Regions from separate parts of the Homo sapiens genome. Here all the other regions are linked to region 4. The links are contacts of gene promoters, found by promoter capture Hi-C in blood cells and fetal thymus (Javierre and others, 2016). All regions are on one chromosome and are shown on one strand. Each heading gives the region's core, a stretch centred on a gene start or on the middle of the fragment in contact. The rest is flanking DNA. Distances are from core to core; before and after follow the strand shown.

Region 1 (2,818 bases), core at 1-2,500, 310 kb before region 4:
GGCCCCCGCCTCGTTCGCTACCCCAGATCCCAACAAGCTCCTGTCACCTCCTTCACCCTGAATGACCCGGGCATCCCACTTCCCTCACCAGCGAGGAGGCCCAGGCCGAGGTAGAGATGCAGCAGATCGCTGGCGAAAGCCGAGAAGACGAAGCCCAGCGAGGCGAGGACGCCCCCAACCATCACCACGGGGCGGGCCCCCCAGCGCGTGCTCAGGGCGCTGCCCACGGGGCCTGAAAGGGGGCGGAGTCAACGGAAGACACGCCCCCGGGCCCCCAAACTCTCTCCAACACTTCTCATTGGCTGTTTGCCTCCCTCGAACTAATGGTTCTTCTCCTTGACCTCAAGATGCACTCTTTTCTAGAGCCGGTTGCCCTTTCTCAGGTTGTCGGGTAATCAGGTGGGTCTCCCATCCCTCCACTCACGGCTCCTCCTCCCCGTTCCTGTCTCCCGCCTCAGGGCCCCCCTCACTGGCTGCCTGCTGCACGGCCAGGGCCAGGGCGCTGATCCACGCAGTGTCCTGGGCGCTTCGGTCAAAGTGCTCGGCAAGGTCAGGGAAGGCAAGGCCCAGCGAGCGCAGCAGCCCGTAGGACAGCCCGTTTATCGCGAAGGCTGCGGCCGCCACCACCCAGCCCCAGCCCCCATCCGGGGGTCCGGCGGGCTGGGGGGTCATCGCCGTCTGCGGGGTGGGGAAACATCTGTGAGAGAAGCCTCCACGCCTGTGCTTCCGCTGGGGAGCTGGCATCCCTGAGATCCAGCCTCTGGCTGCTCGCCCGGGGTGGGCCCGTCACTCCGAGCGCGATGGCGCGGGGCGGAGGGAGCCGGAGCCTGGCCTAGGGCTGGAACTCCCGGGTCCGCGCGAGGTACGGGGACGGGGACAGCCAGATCCCCAGGCCCGAGGTTCCCCGTCCCACGCACACTCCTTCCCCCTTACCCGACCTCTCCGGGCGGTGCGGGGAGGGGAAGGGTGAGGAAGGGCTGGGCCCGGCTTTCTCTCTGCTTCCCAGGCGGGCGGGGGCCCCGAAGGGGAGCGAGGGCAGCGATGGAGCCCAACTTGGACGGGCTCTCTCGGTAAACAGAGATCACCACAGGGGCCTGAGCCACCTGGGACGCGGGGTGTACGGAGGGCGGGGGCGAGCTGAAACAGCCAATCCGGCAAGCCGCGCGTGAGGCCAGACGCCAGTCCCACGGGGATTGAATTATGTACACACACAACCCCCAGGCCCGGGGGAGGGGGGAGCGGCGAGAAATGAATGCAGAGGGGCCCTGCCCTACTCACACGCATGCACCTGCCGCCTGCTGCGCGCAGGGGAGACACGTGGATTGCAAACCCCAGCGAGCCCAGGGTCCACCGCCAACGCGTGGAAATAGGGATGGTCCCCAAAACCTGAGGGGATGAGTAGTTTTGTTCTCAGGAACGTTGCCGAGGACCAGGTAAATCTCGGATATCAATCAGATCACAGACCTCCACCAAGTGCCAGCTCTGTGCTTAGAATAACAGACCCCCAGGCCGGGCGCGGTGCAAGCCTGTAATCCCAGCACTTTGGGAGGCCGATGTGGGTGAATCACCTGACGTCAGGAGTTCGAGGCCAGCCTGACCAACATGGCGAAACACCATATCTACTAAAAATACAAAAAAAATTAGCCGGGTGTGGTGGCGGGCGCCTGTAGTCCCAGCTACTTGGGAGGCTGAGGCGGGGAATCGCTTGAACCCGGGAGGCAGAAGTTGCAGTGAGCCAAGATCATGCCACTGCACTCCAGCCTGGGTGACAGAGAAAGACTCTGTCTCAAAAATAAATAAATAAACAAAAATAAAATAAATAAAATAAAATAACAGGTCCTCAAGGACAGAGGGATGAAACACGACTCCCTCAATGTGAAGACCTGCAGTGTACCAGGCACCGTTTACACATGCTATCACTTCATCTTATGATAACCCTATGAAGAAGGTGTCGCTTTTCTTTTTTTTTTTTTTTAGATGGAGTTTCACTCTGTAGCCCAGGCTGGAGTACAGTGGCGAGATCTCGGCTCATTGCAACCTCTGCCTCCTAAGTTCAAGCCATTCTCCTGCCTCAGCCTCCTGAGTAGCTGGGATTACGGGCGCCTGCCACCACTCCCAGCTAATTTTTGTATTTTTTAGTAGAGATGGGGTTTCGCCATGTTGGCCAGGCTGGTCTGGAACTCCTGACCTCAGATGATCCGCCCACCTCGGCCTCCCAAAGTGCTGGGATTACAGGAGTGAGCCAACGCGCCTGGCCGATGTCGTGCCTCTTTTATAGATGCAGTAACTGAAGCTCTCAGGGAAAAAATGGTATGGATATTTGAATTTAGGTCTGTCCAACTGTGGACCTACAAGGAGAACAATCCCAGGACTGAAACAAAATCTGGCACAGTTAAGGGAAAGATCCTGGATACAGCTTGAAGCAAACTGCCCTGGAAAGGGTGGAACCATTGCAGGGACAGAAAACTTATGAGTCTAAAATAAGGGGTCACTGGGAATAGAAAGGATTCTTGAGATCAGAATCTCTAAACACTTAGGTTAGAATTTTATTTTTTATTATGTATGTATGTATGTATGTATGTATGTATGTATGTATGTATGTGTGTGTGTATTTATTTATAGAGACAGGGTCTTGTCCAGGCTGAAGTGTAGTACTGCCATTATGGCTCACTGCAGCCTCCACCTCCCAGGCTCAAGCAATACTCCACCTCAGCCTCCCGAGTAGCGAGGACTACAGGCTCCACACCACCATGCCTGGCTAAATTTGTTCATTTTTTTTGTAGAGAGGGGGTCACAGCATGTTGCACAGGCTGGTCTC
Region 2 (3,004 bases), core at 505-3,004, 310 kb after region 4:
CCACTGCCTTGGACTCCCAAAGTGCTGGGATTACAGGCGTGAGCCACTGCACCTGCCTAGCCTATACTAAGTTCTCTAAAATCTGGCAAGGCAAATAGGACCCCCTCTCCATTCTGTTGCTTATTATTTACTTATTATTTACAATTTTATTATTTATGTTATTTTATATTATTTATTTTATTTATTGAGACAGTCTCCCGCTGTGTCGTCCAGGCTGGAGTGCAGTGGCACGATTTCAGCTTACTGCAACCTCTGCCTCCCGGTTTCAAGGGATTCTCCTGCCTCAGCCTCTCGAGTAGCTGGGATTATAGGTATGCACTACCACGCCTGGCTAAGTTTTGTATTTTTAGTATAGACGGGGTTTTGCCATGTTGCCCAGACTGGTCCGGAACTCCTGAGCTGAAAGCGATTCACCCGCCTTGGCCTCCCAAAGTGCTGGGATTACAGGCGGGAGCCACCGTGCCCGGCCTCCAGTATTTTGTTTATTTATTTTTTTTGAGACAGAGTCTCACTCTGTTGCACAGGCTGGAGTGCAGTGGCACAATCTCTGCTCACTGCAACCTCCTCCTCCCTGGTTAAGAGATCCTCCTGCCTCAGCCCCCTTAGTAGCTGGGATTACAGGCGTGGGCCACCACTGCCAGGCTAATTTTTGTATTTTTAGTAGAGATGGGATTTCGCTATGTTGGCCAGGCTGTCTTGAACTCCTGACCTCAGGTGATCCACCTGCCTTGGCCTAAAGAGAGAGAGAGAGACGGAGTCTCACTTTGTCGCCAGGGTGGAGTGCAGTGACAGGATCTCGGCTCATTGCAACCTCCACCTCCCGGGTTCAAGCAACTCTCCTGCCTCAGCCTCCAGAGTAGCTGGAACTACAGGCACGTGCCACCATGCCCAGCTAATTTTTTGTATCTTTAGTAGAGACGAGTTTTCACTATGTTGGCCAGATGGTCTCGATCTCCTGACCTCATGATCTGCCCGCCTCGGTCTCCCAAAGTGCTGGGATTAGAGGCGTGAGCCACCATGCCTGGCCCAAATCCAGTATTTATTTAAACAACTAGTGACACTTACTCGTTCCTATACATTTATGATAAATTTACCCAACTCACACACACACACAATGAAAATTTGGGATTCTAATTGAAATTGCATTATATTATATTTATCTCGAGATAATTGATTTTTCTTATTTTTTTAGTTTTCCCATCTGAGAATCTATCATTTTCTTTGGATCTTGGCTTACGTCGTTAAATAAGGGTTTGTGGTCTTCTGCATACAGGCTCTGTGCCATTCCTTCTTTGTGTGTGCCATTCCTATTACACATTTCTTAATGTTTATTGCTATTGTCTTTTTTTTTTTTTTTTTTTTGAGATGGAGCCTCACACTGTTGCCCAGGCTGGAAAGCACTGGCAGGATCTTGGCTCACTGCAATCTCTGCCTCCTGGGTTCAAGTGATTCTTCTGCTTCGACCTCCCGAGTAGCTGGAATTACAGGCTTACACTACCATAGCTGGCTGATTTTTGTATTTTCAGTAGAGACAGGGTGTCACCATGTTGGCCAGGCTGATCTCAAACTTGACCTCAGATGATCCTCCTGCCTCAGCCTCCCAAAGTGCTGGGATTACAGGTGTGAGCCACCATGCCCGGCCTTATTGTCATTATTTTGAATGGAATGTTTTCTTGTTGTCTAATTTTTCACAGTGCTTCTGCTGGAAGATAAAATTAATATTTTTCTACCTACTACTTATCTGCCTTACTAAATTCTGTTAATTCCATAATATTTCTGAGTTTTGGTATACTATCCTATAATCAAAAAGGCATATATGTGTGTGCATGTATGTACGTGTTTGTGTATATATATAATATATATAATATAATATAATATATATATAATTTCCAAACATCCACTCTAACCAGAAAGAGGTATATTTACTAGTGATTTTCTTCCTTTTTTGTTCCTCTTGAATGCACTAAAACCAGAGTAGGCTGGGCACAGTGGCTCACTCCTGTAGTCTCAGTGCTTTGGGAGGCAGAGGCGGGTGGATCATGAGGTCAGGAGTTCGAGACCAGCTTGGCCAACATGGTGAAACCCTGTCTCTACTAAAAATACAAAAAATTAGCCGGGGGTGGTGGCAGGCACCTGTAATTCCAGGTATTCAAGAGGCTGAGGCAAGAGAATCGCTTGAATCCGGGAGGTGGAGGTTGCAGAGAACAGAAACCACGCCACTGTACTCCAGCCTGGGCAACAGAGCGAGACTCCGTCTCAGAAAAAAGAAAAGAAAAGAAAAGAAAAAATAAAACCAGAGTAAGTCTATATCCCCACAGTTTTTAATTTAATTAATTAATTACTTTGTTTATTTATTTTGAGATGGAGTCTTGCCCTGTCACCCAGGCTGAGTGCAATGGCACGATCTTTGCCCACTGCAACCTCCGCCTCCTGGGTTCAAGCGATTCTCCTGCCTCAGCCTCCCAAGTAGCTGGGATTACAGGTGCCTGCCACCACGCCTAGCTACTTTTTGTATTTTTAGTAGAGACGGGGTTTCACCACGTTGGCCAGGCTGGTCTCGAACTCCTGACCTCCTGATGTGCCTGCCTTGGCCTCCCAAGCGCTGGAATTACAGGCGTGAGCCACCGTGCCCGGCCAGTTTTTAATTTTTTTAAATAGAGACAGGGTCTTTCTCTGTTGCCTGGGCTGGTCTCAAGGGATCCTCCCACCTTGGCCTCCCAAAGTGCTGGGATCACAGGCATGAGCCACCATACAGCCCCTTATACTGTTCTTGATTATTTATTTATTTATTTTGAGATGGAGTCTTGCTCTGTCACCCAGGCTGGAGTGCAGTGGCACGATCTCGGCTCGCTGCAACCTCCGCCTTTCGGATTCAAGCAATTCTCCTGTCTCAGCCTCCTGAATAGCTAGGACTACAGGCGCGTGCCACCACACCCGCCTAATTTTTTGTATTTTTAGTAGAGACGGGGTTTCACCTTGTTAGCCAGGATGGTTTCAATCTCTT
Region 3 (2,845 bases), core at 319-2,818, 260 kb after region 4:
AAATCCAAGAGGTTCAGAATACCAACAGTCACACAAAGAAAAACTCTTGGGAGGCAAGAAAGGGCTCTCTCTGGCTTAATCTAAATGGGAAAAAAATGTCCTAGAAAATAGATTCAGAGCAGATAAGGAAGGTGGTATTATAAGGAGTTCTAAGGAACCAAATCCTGGGCAAAGGGGGAGGTGAAATAAGGAAGGGTCTTTGAAAGATGATCCCGTCTTCCAAAAAAGGTTGTCAGATTCCCGAACTGGGATAGTTGGCCAAGAGTCTTCAAGAAGTGGAAATCTTAAGATAAACAGAAGGGAACCTCATAAGCTTCCTTTCAGAGATCCTTTTAGAGATTATGACTATGAAGCTTACATGCCTCAAGACGAAGAAACTATATGAATGACCTGAAGGTATCTGAGGTCTAAGTGAGACCTCAAATCCATTCCTGAGTAGAATGGTAGAGCAGTGGGTCTTGAGATCAAGGTGTGGTGGGGAGAGAGACTTGCGAAAGATGCCACCTTATGGCTGGCTGGGAAGCAACTTGACTGATCCAACCCAGGGTTCCTGAGGTCAAAGATGCCAAACGTCGTAAATGGATCTGACCATTTCTCCTTGGCTTGGGAACCGGAATATAAGATGAAAGTGGGGTGAGTGTTCCAGAGCCAGTAGGCAGAGGCCTCTCTGAGGAAGATGAAAGGATCTTTTACGGGACAGAGGGCCTTCCCAAAGGGACCGTGTGGAAGAAAGACAATTCTCCATGTGCTTGGATCGTGGGGAAGATGTGATTAAGGTCTAAGGTATGTCTTCCACCAGACAACGGACACAGTCAATTAGAAGCTGGGTAAAGGGGTCTCTCCTGCGGAGCGGGGAGCGCCAAGCCAGGGACAATAATGGCCTGAAGTTCATTCTCCCGGAGATGGGGGTAGAAGCAGGTGCAGGTGCCTTAGAGGGGTCAAAAATAAGAGGAACAGGGTTCACTCTAAGCGGTCTCCCAGGGAAGGCTGCGGGTTGGAGCAAGGGTCCAAGATTCTAAGGGCCAGGACTCAGCTCCAGAAGCTCGATCCCGCCCCACGCGTTCCTGCTCCGGCCAGGGGAGGGGGCTAAGGACCGGCGTCCCCAGTCGGCGCGCCGTCTCACCTTGTAGAAGGCCCCGTTGGAGCCGCGCACCTCGACGGGCAGTCCCGGCTCCACATCCCCCCCAGAGGCCAGGCCGCCCATGGCGCCGCCACCGCCTCCGACTCCCCCGGCGGCGGCTGCAGCAGCAGTCTGAGTGCGGGCCGGGCCAGGCCCCCGGCGTCTCCCCGGAGGAGGAGCCGGAGGGGGAGCCGCGGGGGGCGGGAGCCGGGCCGGCCCCACGGCGGCCCTGCCACAGCCAACGAGCAGGGGGCCGGGGCCGGGCCGCTCCCCGTCCGCCGCCGCCGCCTTGGTCTCCGCCACCGTGAGGGAAACGGCCGCCGCCGCCGCTGCCTTCGTCACCTCAGCTTCCGCCCGCCGCCGCCCCCGCTGCTGCCTCAGTCCCGGGACCCGCTGCTGCCGCTGCCGCTCCACAGCCTCCACCTCCCCCTGCCACCGCCGCCTACTGCGCAGGCGCACCGGGCACCCGCCCGCTGCGCGCGGGGCCCCGAGGGCCACCGCGCAGGCGTCAAGGTTAGAGCCCCAGCTAGCGCCAGCTAGCGCATCGGGGCTTCCACATTCCCTTTCACTCTCTCACTCCCCCTCCTGGTCGCTTGCTAGCGCTTGCGCAGAACAAGATTAGCCTTCTTTCTTCACCGCTCCACCGCCCAGCCACCCCGTCTCTTCCTTTCCCCGCCCCACAACACTGAGAACCAACCAATCAGGGGGAGGGAGGGGCCGGGCTCGCTCAGTCCGATTGGGCGGCGTCCGCACAGTCACACAGCGCTCAGGCCACACCCACTCCGCCGCCGCTGGCCCCACCGGGCTTGGACAAGTTAGGGATGGGCATGCGCCTGAACGACTGCTTGGTCACTTTCCCCACCTTTGTCTTTCTTGGTGCGCACGCTCCAAAAAGAAAAAAAAAAGAAGAGGAGTCGCCGCAAGGAAAAAGGTGCTTGGTGCGCACGCGCTGAGCTTTACCCTCTTCGCGTATGCATCGCCGATATTTTAAGAATCTGTAACTCTCTACTGTAGTAGATTTAACAGTCATGGCTCTTACCTTGAAGAGATTGTGATACAATGAAAGTTTTGGCCGGGCGCGGTGGCTCACGCCTGTAATCCCAGCGCTCTGGGAGGCCGAGGCAGGTGGATCACCTGAGGTCCTCGGATCACCTGAGGTCAGGGGTTCGAGACCAGCGTGGCCAAAATGGTGAAACCCACCCCCCCCCCCACCCCGCATCTAATAAAATACAAAAATTAGCCGGGCGTGGTGACACGCGCCTGTAATCCCAGATACTCGGGAGGCTGAGGCAGGAGACTACCTTGAACCTGGGAGGCAGAAGTTGCAGTGAGCCAAGATCGCACCATTGCACTCCAGCCTGGGCGACAGAGCAAGACTCAGTCTCAAAAAAAAAAAAAAAAGAAAGAAAGAATAGAAAGAAAGCTTTAAGAATAGTTTCAGACGGGCGCTGTGGCTCACTCCTGTAATCCCAGCACTTTAGGAGGCTCAGGCGGTGGATCACTTGAGCCCAAAAGTTTGACACCAGCCTCAACAGGGCGAAACCCTGTTTCTACTAAAAATACAAAAATTAGGACGGGCGCGGTGGCTCAGGCCTGTAATCCCAGCACTTTGGGAGGCCGAGATCACGGGCGGGCGGATCACGAGGTCAGGAGATGGAGACCATTCTGGCCAACATGGTGAAACCTCGTCTCTACTAAAATACAAAAAATTAGCCGTGGTAGTTC
Region 4 (3,137 bases), core at 431-2,930:
CGTAATTCGCCCATCAACATTGCTGTCAGGCATCTTTTTAGCACTAGACGTGACCCCGGGGGTGGGGGCAGATGAACGGAACGCAACCCAGCTCAAAGGATGGGAAGTTGTGGGGGAGGTGAGGATAGTCTTTTTTTTTTTTTTTGAGACGGAGTCTCACTCTGTCGCCCAGGCTAGAGTGCAGGGGCGCGATCTCGGCTCACTGCAACCCCCGCCTCCCGGGTTCAAGCGATTCTCCTGTCTCAGCCTCCCCTGAGTAGCTGGGACTACAGGCGTGCGCCACCACCCCCGGCTAATTTTTTGTATTTTTAGTAGAGACGGGGTTTCACCATGTTGGCCAGGACGGTCTCGATCTCCTGACCTCGTGATCCGCCTGCCTCGGCCTCCCAAAGTGTTGGGATTACAGGCGTGAGCCACCGCGCCCGGCCAAAGATAGTGTCGTTCATTTCTTAATTCCCTCCTCTTCAGGCTACGACTGGCAAAGATGAGGGAGGCTGAAGCGGCCCAGGGGCAGGCAGGTAAAGAATACACCCACCCCACCCCCCAGGCCCAACACCTGAACTCTGGGCTTCTGGTCCACGGTGACCTCTCTCCCTAGTGCCCAGCTGCATTCATTCCGTTATTTAACAAATGCGTATTGGGCGCATGCGACGTGCCAGGCCCTGGCAAGGCATAGGTGCTGGCGCAGTGCCCGCGGCGCGCACGTTCCCACCCAGGCTCGGAGCGCGAGGTCCCCAGGTGGGCCCCAACCGCCGGATCCTGCCCTTCTGCACTGGGGCCCAGCCGCCTCCCGGCCTTTCCTCCCTCCCCCAGGAGATGAGACGTATCTTGACATCTTCCGCGACTTCTCCCTCATGGCGTCAGACGACCCGGAGAAGCTGAGCCGTCGCAGTCATGACCTCCACACGCTGTGACCCGAGGCCCACGGGGCCCGCGCCTGCCTCCCTTCCCCGCCACCGGGCCCTCTGCCATTAAAGCCTCCGTGCTTCGCTCTTCCCTTCTGGTTCACTTCTTGGGCGCCACCTTCGGGCCCGTAGGGTGTTGGGCGCTGCGGCTCCCGAGGTGCGGGGAGCAGCTGGGGGTTTGCGAGCTCCAGTCCAGCAAGGTGCGACTCCGGGGAGCGAGGCGGCAGCTTCGGCCGCGGCCTGAGCGCAGGGCGCTGCGGGGCGGGGGCTCTCGGGCTGGGGCGACGTGGCCAGCCCAGTCCTGCCGAGGGGTGGGGCTGGCCCTGGGGCTCGCTGGCCCCGCGCCGCCGCGGAGAGAGCGCGCCCGGGCCACCCCGGCTGGAAGGCATCCCCGGAATGCGGCGGCTCAGCACCCGCCCCCTCGGGAATTCCCCGGGGGAGCCGCTGGGAGGGACTCGGCTCCCGGGCTGGGCCGGCCGGGCCTCGGGCTCTGAGCGGTGGGATTAGAGGCTCCAGCCCCGCCGACTTGCAGACGTGAGATCGGGCACACCTGAGCGGCGGCGGGGCGGTCGTGGCCACATCCGGGGCGACGTGCCTGAGTCACCCCGTCCCGCCAGCGTCTGCCAGTCCAGCCAGTCCGCCCAGTCTCTCGCGTCCGAGACTCGCCTCCAGCCTCCCACCTCCGCCCGGGCCGCGCGAGCCTCGCGGGGGCGGGGGCGGGGCGCCAAGGGGCGGGGCTGTCTCTTAAAGGGCCCCGGGCCGCTGCCCTTAGGCCACTTCCTGGGGGCGGAGAGGACCTCAGCGGCTGCGGCGACACCCAGGGAAGGCGGCGCGGCCGGGTCCCGAAACTCCTGGCTGTTTCCATCAGAGCCCTCGGACACTCCCAGCCCGGGCTGAGCACGCATCGTCGCTCCCCGGCGGATACAAGGGGGCTCCGCCATCCGCTCCCGTCAGTTCGGCCTCCATCTCCTGGGACCCGCGCCGGCAGCCAGGCCAGGCCTCTGAGTGGCCCCAGAGCCCTGGCTGGACTCGTCCACGGCGGCAGCGATCTGCCCGGGGTCTCGGAGGCCATCCCTTCAGAGTCGGCCCTGTGCTCGCCACCGTCACCTGCTGGTTGGATTCCGGAAACCCACTGTCTGAAGACCACAGAGGGGTGTCGCTGACCACCCCAAATCGGATACGTCCAGACCTCAAGCTCCCTTCCCCTCTCTGGCTGCCCTCTGCTCTTTTCATCTCTTCTCTCAACCTTTTGGGGATTTCTGTGTCCTGACACCACCTCCCCATCCACCACCAAAGTAGCCGGGGTGAGCCCCAAACCTTACTGGGTGTGCTCCACCTGTGCCTCCAACCCAGCGAATCTGACAGCTTCGACCCAATTCTGCACACACCCAGGAAGTTCTGCCTTTTCTTTTCTTTCGGTGTCTCCTGTACTTCCCAAAATTTCTCCTCCTCCTGTGCCCTCTTCGCCCCCCTCCTTTGGGGGCCCCGTGACCCTGAATGTGGGGGGCACACTATATTCCACCACTTTGGAGACCCTGACCCGCTTCCCAGACTCTATGCTGGGGGCCATGTTTAGGGCCGGCACCCCCATGCCCCCCAACCTCAATTCCCAAGGAGGCGGCCACTACTTCATCGACCGGGATGGCAAGGCCTTCCGGCACATCCTCAATTTCCTGAGGCTGGGCCGCCTGGACCTGCCCCGTGGGTACGGAGAGACAGCGCTGCTCAGGGCAGAGGCTGACTTCTACCAGATCCGGCCCCTCCTGGACGCGCTGCGGGAACTGGAGGCCTCTCAGGGGACCCCTGCACCCACAGCTGCCCTGCTCCACGCAGATGTAGATGTCAGCCCCCGCCTGGTGCACTTCTCTGCTCGCCGGGGACCCCATCACTATGAGCTGAGCTCCGTCCAGGTGGACACCTTCCGAGCCAACCTTTTCTGCACCGACTCTGAGTGTCTAGGTGCTTTGCGGGCCCGATTTGGTGTGGCCAGTGGGGATAGGGCAGAGGGGAGCCCACATTTTCATCTGGAGTGGGCCCCCCGCCCCGTGGAACTCCCCGAGGTGGAGTATGGGAGACTGGGGCTGCAGCCGCTGTGGACTGGGGGGCCAGGAGAGCGGCGGGAGGTGGTGGGCACCCCAAGCTTCCTGGAGGAGGTGCTGCGGGTGGCTCTCGAGCACGGCTTCCGACTAGACTCTGTCTTCCCCGACCCCGAAGACCTGCTCAACTCCAGGT

Evidence for each region. Contacts are between HindIII fragments. The CHiCAGO score rates a contact against its expected background, and 5 or more counts as called.
Region 1: a contact is called between the fragment with the promoter of SLC16A11 here and the fragment with the promoter of KCTD11 in region 4, in 4 of 17 cell types (naive CD4 T cells, M1 macrophages, monocytes and 1 more). The highest score is 6.8, in naive CD4 T cells.
Region 2: a contact is called between a fragment that was not itself captured here and the fragment with the promoter of KCTD11 in region 4, in 1 of 17 cell types (naive CD4 T cells). The highest score is 5.2, in naive CD4 T cells.
Region 3: the fragment with the promoter of FXR2 here is called in contact with the fragment with the promoter of KCTD11 in region 4 in 15 of 17 cell types (naive CD4 T cells, endothelial precursors, M0 macrophages and 12 more); the score reaches 8.6 in naive CD4 T cells.

Annotation. Positions count from the first base shown.
Region 1 is chr17:7,042,842-7,045,659 of GRCh38, forward strand. It overlaps SLC16A11 (solute carrier family 16 member 11), which reads right to left and starts at 1,251. Exons shown (of 5, transcript NM_001370549.1): 1 at 934-1,251; 2 at 471-678; 3 at 89-232. The coding sequence starts at 672. It overlaps LOC124903909 (a long non-coding RNA gene), which reads left to right and starts at 226. Exons shown (of 2, transcript XR_007065598.1): 1 at 226-399. RefSeq lists silencers at 598-657, 728-857. The HindIII fragment of the contact is 13,319 bases long and covers 1-2,818 here.
Region 2 is chr17:7,661,282-7,664,285 of GRCh38, forward strand. No RefSeq gene overlaps it. Among named protein-coding and RNA genes, the nearest start is that of ATP1B2, 12 kb to the left of the region's middle. The HindIII fragment of the contact is 9,601 bases long and covers 1-3,004 here.
Region 3 is chr17:7,613,329-7,616,173 of GRCh38, forward strand. FXR2 (FMR1 autosomal homolog 2) reads right to left here and starts at 1,569. Exons shown (of 17, transcript NM_004860.4): 1 at 1,124-1,569. The coding sequence starts at 1,204. It also overlaps a transcript of SHBG not described here. RefSeq lists silencers at 1,124-1,653, 1,764-1,813. The HindIII fragment of the contact is 2,190 bases long and covers 352-2,541 here.
Region 4 is chr17:7,350,482-7,353,618 of GRCh38, forward strand. KCTD11 (potassium channel tetramerization domain containing 11) reads left to right here and starts at 1,681. Exons shown (of 1, transcript NM_001363642.1): 1 at 1,681-3,137. The coding sequence starts at 2,345. ACAP1 (ArfGAP with coiled-coil, ankyrin repeat and PH domains 1) reads left to right here. Exons shown (of 22, transcript NM_014716.4): 21 at 469-518; 22 at 814-996. The coding sequence ends at 914. RefSeq lists silencers at 750-809, 880-939, 990-1,759. The HindIII fragment of the contact is 3,784 bases long and covers 1-3,043 here.